Regions from separate parts of the Homo sapiens genome. Here region 1 is linked to region 2. Evidence: promoter capture Hi-C in 16 types of primary human blood cells and fetal thymus (Javierre and others, 2016). All regions are on one chromosome and are shown on one strand. The core of a region is centred on a gene start or on the middle of the fragment in contact, and the rest is flanking DNA. Distances in the headings are between cores, read along the strand shown. Region 1 overlaps PAPPA (pappalysin 1). Region 2 holds the start of ASTN2-AS1 (ASTN2 antisense RNA 1).

What was found. Contacts are between HindIII fragments. The CHiCAGO score rates a contact against its expected background, and 5 or more counts as called.
Region 1: a contact is called between a fragment that was not itself captured here and the fragment with the promoter of ASTN2-AS1 in region 2, in 9 of 17 cell types (M2 macrophages, M1 macrophages, M0 macrophages and 6 more). The highest score is 20.4, in M2 macrophages.

What each region holds. Positions count from the first base shown.
Region 1 is chr9:116,206,700-116,210,824 of GRCh38, reverse strand. It overlaps PAPPA (pappalysin 1), which reads right to left. Exons shown (of 22, transcript NM_002581.5): 3 at 3,224-3,369. Among named protein-coding and RNA genes, the nearest start is that of PAPPA, 55 kb to the right of the region's middle. The HindIII fragment of the contact is 3,198 bases long and covers 1,051-4,125 here.
Region 2 is chr9:116,502,262-116,506,146 of GRCh38, reverse strand. It overlaps ASTN2-AS1 (ASTN2 antisense RNA 1), which reads right to left and starts at 1,864. Exons shown (of 12, transcript NR_033973.1): 1 at 1,803-1,864. The region is part of intron 19 of ASTN2 (astrotactin 2); the gene reads left to right. RefSeq lists an enhancer at 495-664. The HindIII fragment of the contact is 9,663 bases long and covers 1-2,550 here.

The DNA.
Region 1 (4,125 bases), core at 1,400-3,899, 300 kb after region 2:
TTAGTAGAAATGCAGAATCTCGGGCCTCACCCCAGACCTACAGAAGCACAATCTGTATTTTAAAATGAGCCTTGAATGACTTGTCTGTATATTCTGGTTTGAGAAGCAATGGTCTATATCACATGCCTCAGAAGATTGAGAATTGCTTGGCTTGGGCAGATAGACAGAACAGATCTCAGCAGAATTTATGGGTAGTATTTGTGCTGTGTTCATTTTAGGCATTGGAAAGATGCATACAGGCTGCCAGAGAGATAATTAAACTTTAAAATTTTAAAATGTTTAAGGGAAGGTTAAAACTCAGGTCTGTGAACCTTGAAAGTAGGTACTTTAGGTGTAGAGCAGCATCTTCTAAAAGAATGGTGAGGAGGTAGGGTCTTGTTGATTTGAGCTGGCAAGCCCCACATGGGCATGGAGGGTTTTATCTTAGACTGAACCTCTGGAATGGTGTGCTTGCTCAGTCAAGGGACTCATAGAGTCTATGCAGAGGTCTCTGATTTTGAAGAAGGACTCTGTCTCCGTGTTAGGGTCACTGGAGGACTTAATTTCAGAGATTGAATTTCTGAGCAATTTTGAATTGCTTAGAGCTTTCTAACACAAAGATAAAGATGTGTGAGAGGGCATGTGAGTGTGCGGGTGTGCACATTCACTTGGGTATGAGAAGGGGGCAGGCAGAGGCAGGGAGGAAGAGAAATTGAGACAGGAAATCTTTCTCAATTATTTTCTGTCAATCATAACATGAAACATAATCCGCTTCCCACCCAAGGCTTTTTCCAGGGATCATGGTGTAATAGCAGAAAAAGAGGGGAAAAATATGGTTGTAATAAATTGGGTTTGATTGGGGCTACTGCAGAGGAATTACTCATGAGCAGCATCTCTTGGGATGGGGAGAGGGCAGCCTGGAGTCCAGCTGGAGTTAGCTGACATAGGTTGCAATCCTTGTTCTGCTTCACACTGGCCTTGTGACTGTGGAAAATGGACTTTGCATCTCTGGTGAGCTCTAAAATAAGCAGCTACAATAATGCCAATGATTCTCTGTCTCTCCATGAAGCTTCATTATTGAGGTAATGAGAGGACAGGACCATTCCAGGGATGATGATTGGATTGCAGACTTAATGTCTAGGCTAGCCCTGTTTGCTTTACCTCATCCCCTCCCAACTCACCCCTTTTCACAGAGTGACAGCACTTGGGCCCCAGTCCTGTTTCATTGCTTCTCTTAAAAGGTGAAATAGCTTGAGCCTGACATCATCCTGAAATACTATAACATGCTATGGATTTATAGCCTCCCTTATTCCTGGCCCTGAGCCAGACTCTGAAATTTATGGAATTATCAGGAGTAGTTTTTTCTAACAGTAGAAGCCTGCTACTCAATCCTTCTCAGACTCTGATCATGGCCCTTTCAGTTGCTTTTCTAATAGGACAGAATTTCAGAACTGAGAAGGATCCTTAGGGTCTTCTGGCCTCCTAGGACCTGCTTATTTAATATTGAAGGACATTGAGACCTGAGGAAGGAAAGAGAATTGCCTAAGGCCATACTGCTAAGTAAAGTCACAGCTGAGAACAAACACGAATTTTGGCTCTAGTCTAGCATTACTCCCATATATCATACTAGGCATGTGATATAAGCTGATCATCTTCAAGTTTGCCTAAGCTGCACGCTCTCTTCTGCCCAACCCCACCTGTCTGTGTCTGTCTATCTGCCAATCTATCTACCCATACACCATATGTCTCAGGATTTCTCAACCTCAGCACTATTGACTTTTTAGTCTGTATAATTCTTTGTAGTGGACATTGTGGACATGTAGCAGCATCACTGGCTTCTACCCACTAGATGCCAGTAGCATTCCCCCATTTGTAAGAAGCAAAAACATCTCTAGATATTGCCAAATGTCTCCTGGGGCATAAAATCCTCCCAGCTGAGAACAAGTAGATATTTATCTTTGTATCTATCTTTATTTATACAACCACACACATGCACACACACGCACACACACACACACACAAATTGGTTTCATTCTCTAAAAAACAATTGAGAAATGAGAGTCGTCTGGAGGGAACTAAGTCTATGGTTTCATTGAGCAAAACTTGCATTATTTAAATCTCTCATTTCCAAGACAGAATAGCAATGGAGAAGCTACTGGACTCTGTTTCACCAGGAGACCAGGCAGGCCTGAGGATACATCCAGCACTGTCACTGCTGAGCCTGAACATTCTCAGATAAAGATGTTCACTGAGTCATCACGATTCATTCTTGTAAATAATGGGAACATTCTACCAAACGGAAAATGATTAAATAAATGGCAGTGCCCTTGTTCAAGGGAATATTATGTGGCTATTAAAAATCTTGGCTTTAGAGAGGGGAAAATAACCCACAAGGGTGCTTTTCTTTTGTGATTAAGTGAAAAAAATATGGGTGGGAAGTTAAGGATAAGACTTCTGCGACATGGAAAAAAAAGTAGATAGCATAATATTAAGTGAAAAAAGAACACAGAATTTCATCTATGCTATGATTTTAAAAATGTACAGTTAAAAAAATGCATGTTTACATATAGATGTGTCCTGGAAGAGAGCATGGAAAAAATAAAATTAAAGAACTGCAATGTTTGCTTACAGGGCCTGGTTCAGAAACTGTTGTCATGTCTAACTTTTGGTGATTGGTTTGTACAAACTTATGTCTTGTTTATGGATATGTATAATTTGAATGTAAGAAGAGTTCCTGTTGGTGTTGGTGGGTGGAACATGGAGGAACACAGAGTTCTTGCAAACTCACTTTTTCTTGCCTCTTTGGTGTCTTTTAAGCCAACCCATGACTGGCTGTGCCAGTACAGTGTGGTTACCAGACTGAGAAGATATTTGCAGGAACTAGGAGACAGAGGGTATAAGGAGAAAGCAAACAATGGGCAGTGTTGGAAACTTAAATTCCAATTGTGACTGTCACTGTCTTGCGTGTGATGTTGGATAAGCCCCATTTCCTCTCTGGGTCTCATTTCCCCATTGATAAAACATGGTTAATAATATGGTGCTATTTCCTTCAGAAAATTGCTTGGTGGTCAAAATGAGATAAAGGATGCTAAAGAATTTTGTAAATTAAAAAGTGATAAATAAATCGGTTGTTCACCCTCACAACTACCACCACCACCATCATGATCGTAACAATGATCATCATCGCACTAAGTGTATTACTGTCCTACTCTAGTTGCCTCCTGAAGGAGTTTCTAAGACTCACCTAAGTGCATCAGGGCCTCCTTGTCCCATGGCCAAGTTGCTACTCCTGCCAACTCCTCCTCTGAGGATTTTGCAAAGAAAATATTGAGATGTGTTGATCCATCCAATTTAAGAATGTTCTTCAGCTCATTAACATCCAAGTAGGCTCTGAAACAGAAAAAGAACCTTGGCTGTTATCATGCCCCCAAAAAGATAACAGGCCCTCTCCAAATAATTTAGAGCTACTATGAGTGCCAGGCATTTTGCTAAGCACTTTAAAAATACTACCTTATTGAATTCCCCCAATAATATTATAAGTAAGATGATTCCATTTTACAGATCATAAAATTAAGTTCTCGAGAGTTTTAGAGACTTGCCAAAGTTGTTAGGCTTCTTATGAACACAGAGGTAGGTAGTATCGTTATCTCCAGAGGCTTAGAGAACCTTCTTCATACCTTACTAAGTTCAAGTTGCTACTTAGCAATGTTTTCCTTTTTCTTAATGCTGTCTCTCCCAAGGAGTTCTCACAGAGCCCAGCCAGTAGCACACATTAGTGATGGTTTCCTGCTCTTCCCCTCTTAGAATAATAAAGGGTCTCCCCATGTATGAAAGACAAAGTTCAAGTTCCCAATATAGCCTCCAAGACACAACCTACTCCTTAGCCTCATCTATCTCTACAACCTTTCTTGAGCACCCCACTGCATACAGAAAACATCTCTGTACCCTGTACGGTGCATTATCCCATTGGCAATTTTATTCATGCTGTTTCCTCTGCTGGGACTCTGATCAGCATTTTGTTCTCTAATGAACAAATCCAAAGTCTGTTCTGGTATCCCTCCTCCAGGAAGACTTCCCTGATGCTCTCCTCACCTGCACCCCTTTTAACATCTCCATACTCGTCCACCTCCTACTAGCAGAGCACTG
Region 2 (3,885 bases), core at 615-3,114:
TATTCCAGAAGCTGAGGAGAAGGCACTGAACAAGCTCCTATCATGGAGCTTATGTTCCCGGTACAGAGGGTTGGGAGGCAATGATGGTAAAGTAATAGATGTGCAATACAGAGTCAAAGTGTACTATGTGTTTGAAAGAAAAATAGGGTATGAGGATAGAGGTTGGGGGCATACCATTTAGTTACAGTGATCAGGACAAACCTCTTTGAGGGTGTGATGTTTGAGCAGAGACCGGAAAGTGGGAGGAAGTGAACCATGTGGCTAGCTGAATGTAGACTGCTCCAGACTGAGGATGTAGCAATAGCAAAGCCCCTGGAGCATCCTCAGGAGCACCAAGGAGGGCACAGTCATTGAAGTGTAGTCAGCAAAGGGAGAGGGAAGGCGCTCTAGCTGGAGCAGTAGTGAGGCTTTGGATTGCCTAGGAGTTGATGGATATGAAAATACCAGGTACACTGTAAAGTTCTAGTGCAACATGAGTGCCCCCGACCCATCGCCACTTCTTGTTTTGGAATACATTTTATACATTAAGGAGAAGCACTGGGTCAGATATTTTACACATTGAATCCTTGAAACATTCTATTAAAATGGTAATACTTCTTATTCCTGTCTTACACAAGAGGATGCTAAAGGTAGGAAGCCCAGTTTTATTGGAATCCAAAGGTGGTTCTTTGCATATTGTGGCAGACTTCTGGTTTTGGTTTGGTTTTGCCTTGCTTTTCTTAAAAAATAAATTCTAATGACTACTCAGATCCATTTGCATTGATTGGGTATCCAGTAAGGGAGAGGTGGAAACAGGGAGGCGAGCTGGGCACCAGGGAAAAGCTGAGCGGGAACCAACATTGTTTCCACAGAGCAGAGACTCCCTGGATTCATGATCTAGATGGTTCCATTCATCAGTAGCCTCAAAGCGATTAAAGGAATGAGTAGACTATCAGATACTAAAAGCACACGAGATGAGAAGTCAGAGATATTGATGCCCCATATGCAAAGTAGGGTTCTCTGATGTGCTAGCATAGTTAGTAATTATTGAGAATGTAAAGCATTTCAGTCACTTTTAGAGGATGTGAAAGTGTGTCTGACCTTTACTCTTCCCTCATAATAGTCAAATCTCAGTTGCGCAATTTAACCAAGTGACCTTAGGCAAGTTAGTGGATCTCTCTGAATCTTGATATACTCATTTGTAAATTTGGGGAAATAAGCTAACTTGTGTTTTTTGTTGTTGTTGTTTTGGGTTTTTTTTTTTTTTTTTTTGAGACAGGATTTCACTTGGTCATCCAGGCTAGAGGGCAGTGGTACTATCTTGGCTCACTGCAGCCTTGACTTCCCAGGCTCAAGTGATCCTCCCACCTCAGCTTCCTGAGTAGCTGGAGCTACAGATGCACGATACAACACCCAGTTAATTTTTGTACTTTTGTAGAGATGAGGTCTTACTATGTCGCCCAGGCTGGCATATTGTTATTAAGCTGAAATGAGATGCAGTACATGAAATACTAGGCATAGTATCTAACATTGTGAATGCTTAAGTTATATCAATTGTCACTGTTATTCTGAATAATATTATTATTACTTGAGAGTGTAAGATAGAAATACAAGCAGTAGTTAGCAATATGAAACACTCTCACAGGGTTACTGTAAGTATCAGAAAAGATTAAGAGCTTAATAAACACTAGTTATTATTATTATCTCAATGTCCTTTAAGTAAAATGGGTTTTCTTCTTAGACCTCAGAAAGTAGGTGCTGTCTCTCCCATCTTACCTTCCCTTCTTTCTTTCTTTCTCCCTTACCGTCCTCTTTGCCCTCACCTTGGTTGGGCCCCCATCCTGGCGATGTCAGATGCAGTCGCACAGGTTTTGCTGCTCACAATGCTACCACATTCCAAAGCTCACCATTCCAATTGTAGACATCATAAACATGTATTAATCATTGATCAAGTGTCTTGTTCTAACAAATCAGAATATTGGAACAAGGGAGGGAAGTATCTTAAGAAAGAGATGATTTTTATTTTTCTATTGTTTTTCCAATTTGCACAGAGGCACCCTATAGGCTAGCAGTAATAGTCTGAGCTTTAGTTTTCCTGTCTGTACAATGAAGCCCTGAAACAGATGATGCCTCAGGATCCCCATGGTTTTGGGTCCTTGCAGGTCCAGAAGTGGGCACTGCACTACCCAAGTTCATGAAGTCAGCTTTGGGACTATGGAGAGCAGAACTGTGATATGGACTGTGATGCCTTAGAGACCTGTGGGTTCTTGGTCTCTCTACCTTAACCACAGGTACCTGTAAACTGGGGATGATAATCCTAAACTGCCTACCTCACAGGATTATCGTGAGGATTAAATGAGGAAAGAGCGTGCTTTGTAAGCCCTAATGAGCTGCACAAATTGGAAAGATTACTTACACCACACGAACACACTCATATATATATTAAGTATGTATGTGTGTTTATATTTTACATTGCAGTATGTATGTGTGCATGTGTGTATATATAGTATATGTGTGTGTATATATTATGTAAAGCTGTGAACTCATAGGGTTAGGTATGAATTAGAAGCTTGTAAAACATGTTTACTCATTCAGTGTAACCCAAGGCAGTTATTAAACAGTAGGAAAAACTGACCAGCTAAATTTTCCAAGCCTAAAAACGCTTTTATAGTTTTCATTGTGGATTGAAGGGTGACCTTGTTTCCTTTTCTTTATTTCAAGGAAAATTTTAACATAAATGAGGAAGCAAGGGAGTCATTTTAATAGAGTGAAAACCTCTATATGTGGGTGGGAGGGATAGATGAGGGGAGCTGAATGGAAATGCCAGTCACCCTCTCACTCTCCCCCCCTCCTCCTCCCAGATCATCTGCCCCGAGTAGCGGTGAGACCAGAAGTAAAGCTTCCCTGGTCACTCAAGGGCATCCATCTCCAGAAGATGCCCTTCTAGCTGGTCCTGCCGTGCCCTTCCTTCCTTCCTTCCTCCCTCCTTCTTCCTTCTTCCTTCCTTTCTCCTTTCTTCTTTCCTTACTTCCTTCCCTTCTTTCCTTTCTCCTTCCTTTTTTCTTTTCTTCCATCTTCCTTCCCTTCCTCCCTCCTTCCTTCCTTCCTTTCTTCCTTCCCTTCTTCTTTCCTTCCTCCTTTTTTCTTTCCTTTCATCTTCCTTCCTTCCCTCTCTCCCTCCCTCTCTCCTTCCTTCCCTTCTTTTCTTCCTCCTTCCTTTTTTTCTTTCCTTCCATCTTTCTTCCCTCCCTCCCTCCTTTCCTCCTTCCTTCCCTTCTTCTTTCCTTCCTCTCTTTTTTCTTTCCTTTCATCTTCCTTCCTTCCCTCTCTCCCTCCCTCCTTCATTCTCTTCTTCTTTTCTACCTCCTTCCTTTTTTCTTTCCTTCCATCTTCCTTCCTTCCTTCTCTCCTTCCTTCCCTCATTCATTCATTCATTCCTTCCTTCCTTCCTTCCTTCCTTCCTTCCTTCCTTCCTTCCTTCCTTCTTTCCTTTCTTCCTTCTGTTTTTCTTGTTTGCCTTGGTCTTGGTCTTTCTGACCCCGATTTTCTCTGTTTCTCTCTCTCTCTCCTCACCAACTCCTGTCTATGTCTCTCTATTTCTATCTGTCTTTCTAGGTCTCTGACCTTCTATCCACTTCTCTCTGATTGTCTTTTTTCTGCATTTTTATTTCTGGTTCTCTGTCTTTGGCCCTATGTGTTCTTATCTATGTCTCTCTCTTTCTCTCTCCATTTCTCCTCTGTCTCTCACTGTGGCTCTCAGTTTCTGCTTCAGTCTTTCTGAGTATTTTCTGGCTGTAGTTCTCTCTTGGTCTCTTTCTCTATTTCTCTCTCTCTCTCCTCTCTCTGTGTGTGAGTGTGTGTCTTTGTGTCTGTGTGTTGTGTGTCTCCTCTCTGTGTTTGTTTTTT